5 separate regions of the Homo sapiens genome follow, and regions 1, 2, 3 and 4 are each linked to region 5. Evidence: promoter capture Hi-C in 16 types of primary human blood cells and fetal thymus (Javierre and others, 2016). All regions are on one chromosome and are shown on one strand. The core of a region is centred on a gene start or on the middle of the fragment in contact, and the rest is flanking DNA. Distances in the headings are between cores, read along the strand shown.

Region 1 (2,700 bases), core at 44-2,543, 200 kb after region 5:
TGAAGCAATGAAATGAGAATCATCTAGATAATCAGAAAACATATATTAGATCCATGTACAAAAAACTGTGGCTTTCCATGGAGCTGTTCTCTCCTGTCTTAGTCATCCTACGAGAAAATGCTAAGCAAGAGACCAGGCAGGCTGCATGGAGATGCAAGGCAGGCCATGCAGAACGGTTAGAATGGGACCCAACCAGGTGGGTGGGTATCAGAACCACAGGGCCTGCTTTCTATAATACGGAGCCCAAATGAGGCCTCTGCAATCTCAACCGAAAACCATCATATTTTTAAGGTGGCAATGCCAGGCTCTCTAGTTTGCTGTTGACATTTAGTAGTTCAAAATAAGTGCATAAACGTGGATCCATTCTAGTCACAAAGACATGGGCATAATCGGATGTGGCTTTAGCAGCAATTCTCAATCATAAAGGAAATAAGAAAGAGAAGTCTTCCCTGCTCCCCTCACCCATAGTGGAAGCCATTTGAACCATCTGGCCTCACTCCCCGGGATTCATAAGCTTTATAATTAAAATACCAGTAGTAAGTGTAATTCATTCATGTCTTAGGGGGTGCTCTGCCAATTTGTATGATTACCAATTCATTGAGCAGTGTGTTATCATCTAATTTAACATATTGAAGAACTATTTTTCTGGGGCTCATTTACCATTAAGCTGGTCATCCTACATCCTCTTGAATGAGATGGGAAGGAAATAGCATTAGCAGTGATTAGGGCCTGCATTTCCTCAAAGATGTGACAAGCTCTAAAATTTGGACACCTTGTTTACTTCATTTTAATGAGGTGTGTGTGTGTGTGTGTGTGTGTGTGTGTGTGTGTATTAAAATAACCTCATTTGTGTTTCAAATATAGTTTTCTACTCACATAGTGAAAGTTGAGATTGATTAGACCTGTGCTATCCAAAGCTAAGTGCCATTTAAGCTTATATTAAGTATAATACAATTATGTAAAATTTAAAATGTGGTTTTGTTACCCTAGCACATTTCAAGTGCTCAATAGCCACATGTGACTGGTGGCTACCATACTGGATAAGCACAGATATGGATCATTTCCTTCACCAAAAAAAGTTTTATTGAACAGTACTGTACAAAATGCTTAAAAAATGCTTATGATTTCAAGAACTTTTGTCACCTCAGCATTTTTTTATGTTTTAGATTTGTATAACTAACAGTATTTTTGTTTATTTGCTTTCAGACATTGCCCTGGGACCTATGGACGGTAAGCCACTAATAACTCTGTTTTTTCATGTATCTTGATCCCCAGAAATTTGGAAACCTTGTTATATTTTATTTCATTTGCAACAGAAAGAAGACACATACATTTAATGATGATATAGTCCCCTAGAATGATCATTAGGCCACTGAAAGTCTTGAGCATTATCAGAACCGGAAGATGATGGTGAAGGAAGAGTACAGTGGACCAGACTCCTGGGTGAATAATGGTCAATAATTTGAATAATGGTCAAGAGTTTGGCCCTTTGTTTCTTTCTGTGGTGGTTGGTGGCAAAAGGAGCTGTTGCAGTGAAGGACACACACACTTAAATAGAAGACAAGGAAAGTGTGAATGAGAAAATGGAAGAGATGGGCTACTTGGCACATGGTACCATTTTAAAAAAAAGTGATTGTATTCAATGAAGCTTGGGTTAATAAGAACTTGAGTTTTAGAGCCAGATAGCCCTGGATTTTAGTCCAAACTCTACTACTCATAACCTTGAGACTTTGAGCAATTACTTTTTTTTTTTTTTTTTTTTAAGACGGAGTCTCGCTGTTTCATTGAGTGCTGGAGTGCAATGGCACTGTCTCGGCTCACTGCAAGCTCCGCCTCCCGGGTTCACACCCTTCTCCTGCCTCAGCCTCCCAAGTAGCTGGGACTACAGGCACCCGCCACCGCGCCCAACTAATTTTTGTATTTTTAGTAGAGATGGGGTTTCACCGTGTTAGCCAGGATGGTCTCGATCTGCTGACCTTGTGATCTGCCCGCCTCGGCCTCCCAAAGTGCTGGGATTACAGGTGTGAGCCACTGCGGCCAGCCTGAGCAATTTCTAAAACTCTCTAAGCATCATTTTTTTCTCATTTATAAAATAAGGGTAATGATGCCTACCTCGGAAGGTTGTGTGAGGTTTAAATAAGATAATTGTAAAGTATGTAGCATGGTGTCTGGTGTGTATCAATAAAAGGTAGATGTTATTACTGATGTTTTTTCAGCTAATCTGATGTGTAAGGATAACTACTCCATAATTTAGACTTGGGAAAGTGTCACAAACAGAGCTTTGTGGTGGTCTCATTGGTGCTGTGAAATTAGGTGATTGGTCACACACCTCTACAGCCTCATATCCCTTGGAGCAGGGTCTTTGTTTTAGAAAAGCCCTGGTGATGTGGTCTTAAGAACTCAACTTAAGTTGTATGTTTTCTTCTTTTATTGTGAGGCAGAAAAAGGAAAGTTCGATAGATCTAGCTATTCATGGGCAATGCCACTTCTGAATTGACATTGCCACTTTCTTTCTCCCTTCAAAACAAAAAGATGTCTGTCCCTTCCTTCTGCAGTTGCAGGGCTCATACTGCACTCTTTAAGATCCTTGGAGCATCAAGGGAAGTGCTCAAGAAGAGAGATTAAAAATGTCTATTGAAACCACCAATGACTAAGTTATATCTTTTCTAGTGAAAAGTTTTACTCATATATTCACAAAAA
Region 2 (2,700 bases), core at 201-2,700, 250 kb after region 5:
ACAGCTGCCTTCTGGTTTTTACTTGGAACTCAACTAAAAACCTTACAAACGTGTCAGAACTTGGAGATGAGCAGATCGCACAGCTTTTCTACACAGTGCTGTAGCTACCGTCTTCCTGGTGTGAGACTTTCCTAGGACTTCAGTAAATGGAATCGGACATTTGGTAACAGCACAGAGAAGACAATGACCAATATTCTCTTGGAAGACTTAGAAAATGGAGATCCAGGTGGTTTTGTTCATCTTTGAGCCCTGCAGGTGCATCCCTGTTTGATGATGATCCTGTCCTGAATCACCAGGAGGAGACCGCCTGGATGTTCACGGGCAGCGTTCTTCAAGGCACACAGTAGGGGGTTGATAAGTTGTTCATAAAGCCAAATAAACCATGCGCGAATAAGCTTAATATTCCATCCAAATATTTTGTGACTCATTGGTAATACCTTTTAAGGATCACTTAACAAGCAGCAGCAAATAGTGACTTTTTCCACTTAAAAGATATTTGAGACATAACCCTTACATCTATGCAAATTGAGAGGAAGGCCAGGTAGGTACCCTGAAGCTCTTTCCAAAGAAATCTAAATTTTATCTTTGTTTCCTAAAATCCAGTTAATTCCCAGTCCCCCCGATCTCAGGTCAAACACTCAGGTTGTTTGATTCTTGAGGGTTGGGTCAGAATTGCATGCTTATTTCCCTCCCTGCTGCACTCTGATGCCCTGTAAAACCAGTCCAGCCCAGGAGTGCCTTGTCCATACGCACCTTGCCACATGGCTGATACCCTACACCCTCTCCCACCAGTAAATATTAAACTCTGTGTCATTATGCTCTGCTCTCCAAAACCCTACCAGTGATCACAAAGTGCTGTCTGTGGCATTTGGAGATGCCACCAAACTTCCAATTCTCCCCCAAGATTCCAAGATACGAACTTTCCTTGTTTTCTTACCTCTCTTGTTGTTCCTTCTCTGTTACTGTTCCTAATTTTTTTTCCTCCTTCCTGTGGTTGCTGGAAGTGGGGTGGGGCAATAGCGACCTGTCCTTCAATTTGTGTTCCAGTTGTCCAAGGAATGTTGCCTTTGGAGTGTCCAATTATTGCTTCCAAGTCCACATGTTCATTTGTTCATTAAAATATATCAAGCACCAGCTAAGTGTCAGTTACTGTACATGGGGACCGCATTCATAAGATTTAGACTTCACGCTTGAGGGACTTCCTTCCAAACCCCTCCATGGTGCGTCACTGAGGGGCTCCTCCATTCTTCAGAATCTTGGGCCTGAAGACTTGGGAGCTTCCTTTGTGCATCATTTTCCAGATTTGGGGCACCTGCTATGATTTCCCTGCAAAACATACAACCTTGCACTTTAATCTAGTCGGGGTTCTGTTCTTCACACTGACAGAGAAGACAAATTGGATCCTTGTTGTCTCCCTTGCCACCTGACTTCTTGTCTTCCTCGTACCCTACTGCCCACCCATTTTAAGTACCCAACAGGTCCCCACTCCCTCCTCGCCTCTCCCTCTCAGAAACACATACACAAATGATGAATATCTGCTGCATGTCATACCAGATCCAGGAGCCTCTGCTTGGTCTTCAGAGCTGAACTTCACCTCTTCCCCAGTATTCATCCACTGCCTGCTTCAGAGGCGTCTCCTCAGCACCCCACCCGCCTTCTCCCCCTCAGCTATACACCTTTCTTGCCGTTTTGCAAAACCCCTCTCCTGGGATGCCTTCCCCTCTCCTGTTGGCCTCTAATCCCATCCCCCAGGCGTAGTCCAAGCCCTGTATCCTCAAAATCCCCCGTCCTCTCATCCTTCTACATTCTTTCCACATTTAGAGTAAATATGATACTCCCTAGCCCTTCATTTCCCCTACCAAGAGGCACACTGTCTCCAACCTTCTCTGCATGCTGTATTCACTTCTGGATCTTGTATACTTGTGTGCTGAGTGAACGAACAAGAGGCTGATTGAACGATTAGTTCAGGGAAGTCCAGAAACCCTAATCCCAGGATCAACATGGAATAAAATTTGAAACTGAGTGTGAGAAGAAAATGCAAAATACTTCTGTGATATTGGAGAGGGGAAAGTTTTCTTAAATGAGACTCGGAAACACCCAAAGTATATGGGCAAAAAAAAAAAAAAAAAAAGAGTTTGACTCCAAAATTAAGAATTTATATTTAATGAAAAGATATTTGAGATAGTTAGTTGGTAGACAGATGATAGACTTGCCTAAGATATTTGTACCATCCCAAATTCACAAAGGATAAATGTCTAAAGTACACAAGGATCTCATTCAAGTCAAGAATAAATGAATAATTACTATTATTAGTTTGTTTATATCATTTATATTTATTTATATTTATAATATGGCAATAGTTAATATAATAATAACATTCGTTGACTGTCGTTTGCCATGCATTGCATGTATTATTTTATGTAATCTTTACAAATCTATGAGGTAGTTGCTGTTTTTACTTATTACAGGCAGGGAAGCTAAGATAGAGTTACATGAGGAAGCTTTCTCAAAGTCACACAGTCAATAAATGGCAGGGCCAGGCTGTGCCCCAGGCAGGCTGGCTCTAACATAAGTCCTAACTCCAGCCTCCTTGTTGGTATGTTTAGAGGACATGAAAGGTAATTCACACTTCAGTGAATACTAAGTATAAAAAAGAACCTCAGCTTCCTAATAATCAGACCTGTGCCATTTTTTTTGTTT
Region 3 (2,774 bases), core at 67-2,566, 180 kb after region 5:
CCCTGACCAGATGGCACTGCAGCTGCAGCTGGTCCCTTCTGCCAGAGGAAGACTTAGGAAACTGTAAGAAAGGTGCTCAAAAGCATGACGGTCCCCTTAGATTCAGGGCTTGGGGCAGGGTCCCTCTTTGCCAGAGTCTATCTTTGTGTCCAGTGGCAGAGAGGAAGAAAATATTGCCTGTCTCAGGATTTTTTCATAGCAGATACCCCCAACTATTTTTCCTAAATCTTTCTCCAACTATGATATTGCATATTTTCTCTGATCAAAGATTTCCCCTTTACAAATCCAGAGGAATTATCCCTTGAACATCCAAGCTTATTTCTCCAAGCCCTGCTTATCACGCCATAGGAATGCCTACCATGCTCCCATGCAGACATGAGCACAGCCTTTCAATCCTGAGTGTTGGGACCAATTGAGCACCATTGGCTTTTCTACCCTTATGTCTCTGTTTTCCAGCCTAATACTGCATCTTACTTGTTAAGTTCATTAAATCATGCTGTTTTCCCTAGCCAATTGAACTGAAATAGAATTCAACTTGCAGAATCAGTCCATGAAATGGTTTTTTCACCCATGTAATCCTGAGAGGCCAGCCTGCAGTTATGAACATATGCATCTCTCACTTACTGGGTATCTGTAACCTGGTTCTAAATACCACACTGGCTTTTCAACATAACATATTTCTGGACCAGCTGCCTCTTCTTTCTCTTGCTATTTTTCAAAGTAAACATGTTAACATTATTTTAAGACAGAAAGAATTAGTAAGATGAAAATTAGAAGGAAGAAAAACCACACAGTGCATTTCAAGCCCAAATTTAGTCAGTTCATTGCCCTGGTGGATTACCAACATCATTGTTCCATTCCTTGAGCAGGAGTAACCAAGCAGTGCAGTTTATGTATCATCTGGTATTCTGAAAATGTTTTAAAATCATTGGGTCATTAGGCTTCACTATCTTTCAAGGTTCTGACTCCAGAGCTGCTAACAGTGCCTAGGCTTTTTCTGTCTACAGAACAGGGAAAGCTACTAAATATCTTTCTGCAAGGTCTCATTCAGTTTAACCTTGACATCAATCCTGTGATTTACATGTCATTAGTCCTACTTTCTAGAAGAGCAAACCTGCCGTCTTTCTGCTGAACCTTGCCTCTCCTAGTGCAGAAGTGGAAAGCAGAATGCTGTAGGCTATGTGTGACAGCATTGTAAGCACCCGAAAGAGAGCAGTACCGGGCATTCAGTAAATGAACAAATCGATATCACTCTTTCTATCCTTAGTATCCAGGATGCAGGTTCTCTAGAACTCGTTTGAGTGTTGATATTAGCAAAGTTCTTCAGGTTGTTACATATCAGTGCATTATTGGTAAATACCATGATATAGTGGTAGGAGGGCCTTTACTCAACCAGTTTAGTCATCTGTCTTTCCACTAGTCAGAGTAGAACCTCATTATAAGCATAGGCCCTATCCCTCTTCCTTGCTGACTCTATTCTCATGACTGTCAGCCTTTATACAATTAGTCATAATATATGTAAAAGCAATGAACAAAACCCACGTGCTACACTAGGAATGATTTTGCAGCCTACCAACTTGTTCTAATAAAAAACAAAGTCAAAACAAAACAAAGTAGGAAAACAATTTCCTAGAAGGTCTAGTTTATTGTGTGTCAACTCATTCCTAGAGCATTTCAGGATTATGTAAATATAGGTATGCACATAAAGCAAATGTGAGAGAACAATCGATAGGTCTAGATTGTGAGTAAAGGGATCTGCATTATACTATCCTTTTAATTCTCTGTTCAGCAGTCTCCCCTTATCCACAGTTTCACTTTCCATGGTTTCAGTTACCCATGGTCAACCATGATCCAAAAATACTACATAACAGTAAGATATTTGGAGAGAGCAAGCGAGCGAGAGACTATATTCACATTCACACTACATTCACCTTTATTACAGTATATTGTTATCATTGTTCTATTTTACTGTTAGCTGTTGTCATCAATCTCTTACTATGCCTAATTGATAACTTCAACTTTATCATAGGTATGTATGTATAGGAAAAAACATAGTGTGTATAGGGTTCAGTACTATCTGTACCATTTGTGGTTTCAGGCATCCCCTGGGGATCTTGGAACATAACTCCTCCAAATAAGGAAGGACTAGTATACTACAATAAACTTTGTGGAACAAATACTTGGCAACATCATTTTAAATGACTGAACGATTTTCCATTCTAAGACTGCAATATAAAGCACTTGAACCCTGTCCATGTGCTATATGACTCACATTAACTGTAATGTACCCATCTGGAGCAATCTTGTTATAAGCTTCTAACCACGAAGGTAAACTTTCCTAGGCCACTGCTTCATTGTAATTGTTGATGAAATGCTAAAACTTTACTCACTGTTAGAAATTGTAAATTGTGACTTTTACATGAAAGGTATTTCTATTACATAAAAGATAACTTCTGATTGGCCTTGTTCCTAAAGATTTTATTTAACCTCTCTGTCTTAAGCTTCCTACTCTACCTCTTTTGCCTCATTGGGAAGTCACAAGTGTCCAGCACAATACTTAGGATATAGTAAAGGTTTTCAAAATATGTTTAATGAAAGAATAAAAGATGAAAATCTCTAGAAGAAGAAAAGATGAAAATCTCTATGCCCTCATGGTAATCTGGCTTACTATAATACTGTGTTATGATTAAAGAAATTTTGTGTATGGGTGTGTGTGTGTGTGTGTGTGTGTGTGTTTATCTGTCTGTTTGCATGCAGCCATGAGGATGATTTGG
Region 4 (2,700 bases), core at 128-2,627, 220 kb after region 5:
TAGTTAGTTGACAGTGCAGTCTTGGGGTCCTTAAAGGGGCTGCAGTTTGATTTCTTAAAGTACAAATATGTATATGGTCATTTTCCTTCTCTTTTTTTTTTCATTCAGATACTTTGGCTTTTTTTATATTTAGGAAAAGCAAGCCAGTTATTATGATCAAAAGCAATGTCAGTTTTTTCATTCTGCCCCACAGCTCTGTGACACCTAAGCCCCACTTACCTCAAATATAAAATGGAGTTAATAATAATCACCTTAAAAGTTTCCCATGAGGGCTTAGAAATAAAACATGTTGTCAGTTTCAACATCTGTCGTGCAGAGGTTATTAGTTAATGACAGTTTGGTGATATCATTATTGTTATCATCGTCATGAAAAGTTGGTGAGAAGCAAATAAGCAGAAGCATGTGAAATATGTACTCTGGGGAGGAGAAAGCAGCAGAGGCAAAGATAACAGCCCCCTCTTCCAGTGTTGCCTCATGTCAGAAATGGCAATGGACCCAGTCCCTGTTAGATCTCCATCAACACAAATTTCCATGTGGTTCCCAAACAAGCTGTGTCCCATCAAAATTCTTTGTCCTTTCTAAGAAGACTTCCCCTTTTCCAGGCACCTTCATACTCAGTGAATGAATAGGGAATTTTTCTATCTTCATTGCCCAGGAGATGTGAGTATTCAGAGAACTGGCAGTGCCCTCTCAGCTGCGTCCTCCTTCCATGTGGTTGTAGAAGGAAAAAGAAGGGCAGATGATCTACAAACATGATACATCCAAATCTGATACAAGTAACTGAACCTAGATCTTTCTCTCTGTCTTTGCAGGAAGTCATAGGGAAGAGATAAAATTAGCCAAGAATAAAGTGAAAGTAACAACACAGTGATCAGTTCCCCCAACCTCACAGAGCAGGTTGATCTGGGTTTGTAGGTGGCCATCTCTGAAATATGGGGCCACTGCTGTTTTGAGATGTGGCTGATATTAAGTATTCATTAACCACCTACCAACTGCTAGTAGCGGCATCTTCCCTGCCTTCTGGAGTGTGATTTCCAAAGCCCCATCTCAAACAGGGCCAAGTGAGACTTTTTAATAAATGTCATTGTTTATTCAGAGTGTTGTTATAAATCTATGTGAACATGAACTCAAGATTCAGGTTGTTCTTCCACTATTGAGGAGCCATTTTTAGGTGATAGATGCCCAGTGACTTTTAAGTATTACTTTTGGCATGTACTTTTCTTCTGAGGTGAAATTCACATAAAATAAAATTAACCATTTTCAAGTAACAATTAACTGGCACTTAGTACATTCACAGTGTTGTACAGTCATCACCTCTATCTCGTTCCAAAACATTTTCATCACCTCAAATCACAGCCCCATAGCCATTAAGCAGTGACTCCCATCTTCCCCTCCCCAGGCCCTTGGTACCTGCCAATGTGCTATGGATTTATCTATTCTAGAGAGCTGATATAAATGGAATCATACAACACATGATTATAAGATGGTTTTGTGTCTGCCTTGGTGTATACTTTTTGTCACATACTAAATCTAGAGCTTTAGCTTGATATATTTAATATGACTAGTTATCATTAGCTTCAGGATAAGAAACTCTTATTCTGTCTTCTGAATATGTATTGGGCCCAATTCATAATCCCTCATTGAAACCATTCCTGGTCATCAACACAATTGGGTAGCCTATGTAAGACCAGACCCATTCAGATGTTAAAAAGACAACTCTGTTGAGATAATAAAGCCCCACCCCAATATGAAGCCCAGTCCCACCCCAGAAATCAGAATTTAGACCTACAAGAGCCTTACAGATGTGTTCTACTTACTGGCTCACTCCTCTTCCCCTACAGGTGGCAGTGTTGGGATTTGTTTAGTCCATGGATAATATGGAACCAACCCCCTAGACCATGTGTGCTGAGTTCTCATTCACTTCTTGCCTGTTCCTGTTCTGTCCATCCCTCACCTGCACGATAGAAAGGCCCTTGCATGAATCCCTCCTGCTAGCCCTCCACAGACATGAGCTGGACCTTAAACATGATCAGGAAAAAGTGCTTGATTTGAGATTAGAGATCCCTTCCTTTTCCCCAGCAAGTTGCCTTGTGTTCCAGCATCGGTGCTCAAGCAGTTCAGATACTGCCTTTGAGGACTACTGTGTGTGTCCTGAAATGAAGGAGTATGATCAAAGAGAGTAAGGTGATAGTAAAGAAGGCCATACTGTGATAAGAGATACTAGGGAGCAGTAGCATTGTCATGCATTCTCTCACAGCAGTCCCGTGAAATAGGATTATTTAGGCATCAGGTCCCTCGTTTTACAGATTAAGAAAACGGACACAAAGAGATTAATTGATTAACCAAGATCACACATCTAGAAAGTAGTGACATGTGATTCAAATCCTGGTATTTTAAGCCATAGCTGTCTATCTCCTGACTACTCCAGATGCTTTTAAAAAGAGGAGGTTTTATAAAAATATATTTATCAACACGTCTCATATCACATCTAACTAAAGCCGTTAGGGTCACAACTTAGGGTCCAAGTGGACACAAAGACTTCCCACAACGAATGCTTAGACTTGATGGATGTTCCTGGTTTGTGGCTGAGGAGTTGAAATGAAACAGAAACTCTGTGCAGCCTCAACCTTGAGCTTCTCAGAGATAATGTGTGTCCTAATCCTCCACTTTGGCGGCAAAGCAAATTTCAAAGGGGATGTA
Region 5 (2,700 bases), core at 51-2,550:
TGGCCATAGCATCATTCTAGAATCAAGGTGAGGGGACTACAGGGTGACACAAGAGTGAACACCAGGTGGCAGCTCGCTGAGGTCTACCAATGTAACAGTTTCCCCCAGAGGTACAGTAGGATGCTCACCTGGACTCATAGGATTCACTGTGAGTGACCACTTCTGACCTCTGTTTGCAGGGCACCACCTGACTTCTTCTCCTCACACTCTCAGTGAGAATGGAATATGAATAGTTTGACCACTGGTCAGAGCCAACAAGAGCTCTAGGTGTAGGGCAGGTTTATCCCTATTATTCGTACTTCTCCCAAGCATTAATAAGAATAATAGGGATGGTGAGTCCCTGTTAAGGTTGCCAAAAGGTTTCCAAGGAAGCAACAAGTTAGGGGGGACTGGGTCTTCCATGGTTGATGCGAAGCTATAAGGGACTTGACTGTTCCATGCACCATTTCTTGAAGAGTAGTCTATTCTAAGGTTTCTGCCCAGCACAGGAATTTTGGAGATGACCAAAACACATCGCCTGTCTTCCGGAAGCTGACCTTTCTCAACGCGGACCTCCCCGCCCTGCTAACTCTTGTTTTAAAGTTTAAACAAGTGTCAGCGATGGTCTCTCCCCGCTTTGCTCTCCACACGCCTCTCTCCTGCAGCTCTGACTTCGTTGGTTTCCCAGCCAGGGCCCCTCACTGGGCTGTGAGCCTCCTGAGGGTAGGGCGACCTCCATACCTTCTTCTGCAACACCCAGGGTGTATGGAGGGGCCTCTGTTAGCTGGAAACTTTTGGGAGCAGCAAGGGACCAGCCCCATCAGCTCCACTTCAGAGCAGTTCCAATCCAGCTGGCTTCCACATCCCTAGGGTTCTTCCCTTTTTTGTCTCCCCTATTTCTTTTTTTGCTGGAAAGAATCAGGTCCCCTCACTCTCCCCAAATACAAACTGCATTAAAAGAACCCCCGAGCTGCCCCTGGGCCCAGGGACTTCTGCTAGGCTTGGTTCCCTTTCTCCTCTCGAAACTCTTCTATCATCGAGGAGACAATCTGGCTTCTGGCTTTTCCCTCTCTTTTTCTTGGCCTCTTTCTCTTTCTTCCCCCGCCCCTTCTCCCCATGTCACAGCCAGTCCCGACGCATCCCGCCCCCGCTCTGTCGCTTTAAGCTGGTCCCGCCGCCGCGCCCCGCCCTCACCCCTCCGCGCTCCGCGGCTCCCCGCCGCTTCTCCCGCTCCTCCCTTGCTCGGCCCTCTCCTCCTCCTCCCGCTCCTCCTCCCGCTCCTCCGCGCCGCCGCCAGCCCCGCTGCGCGCTCTGCTCTTCGCAGCTCCCCGGACCCGCAGCCATGGCCGACATCAAGACGGGCATCTTCGCCAAGAACGTCCAGAAGCGACTCAACCGCGCGCAGGAAAAGGTCAGCGGCGGGCGGCCGGGGCTGGGGCCGGGGACGCCAGGCGGGGGCTTGGCCGGAGGGCACCGGCTGCAGCTGTGCGGGGCCCGAGCCTCGGGGTGCGGCGCGCTGCGGAGCGGGGCCGGGGCCAGGGACGCTGGGACGCCCTGCCCTCAGCTCGGTGACTGCCGCAAGGCGCGACCCGGGCGCCGCGGGGAGCGGGTCGGGAGGACGCAGCGCCGGGGACCCGCAGACCCTGGCCCCGGAGACGCCGGATATGTCCAGCTCCGGAGCCGGCCCCGGGTTGCCGCTCTCCTGGCCCCAAGCCAGGCAACAGAAGTAGGAGGTGCGGCAGCTTGCCCGCTGCGCCCGGAGCAGAGCGCATCTCCCTGCGCTCGCATCTCCCCGGGCCGGCTCCCAGCGCGCCCGCAGGCAGCTCGCGGGGACGCGGCCCGCAGATCGGGGCGGGAGATTGCAGCAGCCTTCCTTCTTGCGGGGGATTTTGTGGCTACTTAAGTGCAGCAGACACGAACGATTTAACAGAGAAGCCACCAAAAATCTCCCAGGACCAATAGGGTAGGATCGTGATCACACAGTGCTGTCTGGTGAGTTCTGGAGTTCAAAACAGAGATCTAGATATACACACTTTTAATTTTGGTCTATATGTTTGTGTCCCTTTTGACTCCAGTGTCCTTCTTTAGAAGGTCAAAAATAAATATGACCTGAACCTAATAGTTCCTTTCTGCATATTTCTGCACAAAGAAGGACCTTTTATTGCATTTTAAAAAATCCAGATTGCACAAATTGGGTTCTCTGTTGTTTTGCAAGTCCCTCAGTAAATTGCGCACAGTAATTTATTTTTTTTCCCCAGAGACGTGCATGAATGAAACCCAGGTCCGTAGCAAGCACAGCCCAAAGCAGGTGGAGGGGAGTTGTACCAGGCACCAGGCTTGCCTGGCTTCCCTGGTGACTGCTGTATATGACGGCCCTGAGGTCTTCATTTGTGTCCTGAGCAAAGGACATTTCCTTTATATTGTAGCTTGAGCATTGTACTTGAAAATCAACACCGGCTAATGAGCCCCATGATTGGTATCACTTGAACTGTGTTCTCTTTCACGTGGCAGTATTTTCCGTCCCTAGGATATGGGGTGTTTAGCGTTTTCCTGTTTTACTGGAAGTCAGATTTGCCATGTTGCTCAGGATGGCAATGAATTTCCCTCTTCAGACCCAATCTCAATCTCAGGCTGCCTCCCAGTTCCGGCTGACCATGAGTTGCTGAGCAGAGGGGGCACTGATCCCTTTTGTCCCCAGGCCCAGAGGCTTGGTGGCTGCCT

What was found. The method cuts DNA at HindIII sites, captures the fragments that hold promoters and counts their contacts. A CHiCAGO score of 5 or more calls a contact.
Region 1: a fragment that was not itself captured here is called in contact with the fragment with the promoter of AMPH in region 5 in 8 of 17 cell types (megakaryocytes, M2 macrophages, M0 macrophages and 5 more); the score reaches 7.2 in megakaryocytes.
Region 2: a contact is called between a fragment that was not itself captured here and the fragment with the promoter of AMPH in region 5, in 3 of 17 cell types (total B cells, naive B cells and M1 macrophages). The highest score is 5.3, in total B cells.
Region 3: a contact is called between a fragment that was not itself captured here and the fragment with the promoter of AMPH in region 5, in 2 of 17 cell types (endothelial precursors and M2 macrophages). The highest score is 6.2, in endothelial precursors.
Region 4: a contact is called between a fragment that was not itself captured here and the fragment with the promoter of AMPH in region 5, in 6 of 17 cell types (M2 macrophages, total CD8 T cells, total B cells and 3 more). The highest score is 5.8, in M2 macrophages.

What each region holds. Positions count from the first base shown.
Region 1 is chr7:38,430,719-38,433,418 of GRCh38, reverse strand. It overlaps AMPH (amphiphysin), which reads left to right. Exons shown (of 21, transcript NM_001635.4): 13 at 1,207-1,230. Among named protein-coding and RNA genes, the nearest start is that of TRG-AS1, 91 kb to the right of the region's middle. The HindIII fragment of the contact is 715 bases long and covers 936-1,650 here.
Region 2 is chr7:38,378,254-38,380,953 of GRCh38, reverse strand. TRG-AS1 (T cell receptor gamma locus antisense RNA 1) reads right to left here. Exons shown (of 4, transcript NR_040085.2): 4 at 2,314-2,700. Among named protein-coding and RNA genes, the nearest start is that of TRG-AS1, 38 kb to the right of the region's middle. The HindIII fragment of the contact is 2,106 bases long and covers 398-2,503 here.
Region 3 is chr7:38,447,713-38,450,486 of GRCh38, reverse strand. The region is part of intron 11 of AMPH (amphiphysin); the gene reads left to right. Among named protein-coding and RNA genes, the nearest start is that of TRG-AS1, 110 kb to the right of the region's middle. The HindIII fragment of the contact is 1,999 bases long and covers 317-2,315 here.
Region 4 is chr7:38,410,773-38,413,472 of GRCh38, reverse strand. The region is part of intron 17 of AMPH (amphiphysin); the gene reads left to right. Among named protein-coding and RNA genes, the nearest start is that of TRG-AS1, 71 kb to the right of the region's middle. The HindIII fragment of the contact is 3,412 bases long and covers 1-2,700 here.
Region 5 is chr7:38,629,973-38,632,672 of GRCh38, reverse strand. AMPH (amphiphysin) reads left to right here and starts at 1,300. Exons shown (of 21, transcript NM_001635.4): 1 at 1,300-1,390. The coding sequence starts at 1,322. The HindIII fragment of the contact is 9,553 bases long and covers 1-2,700 here.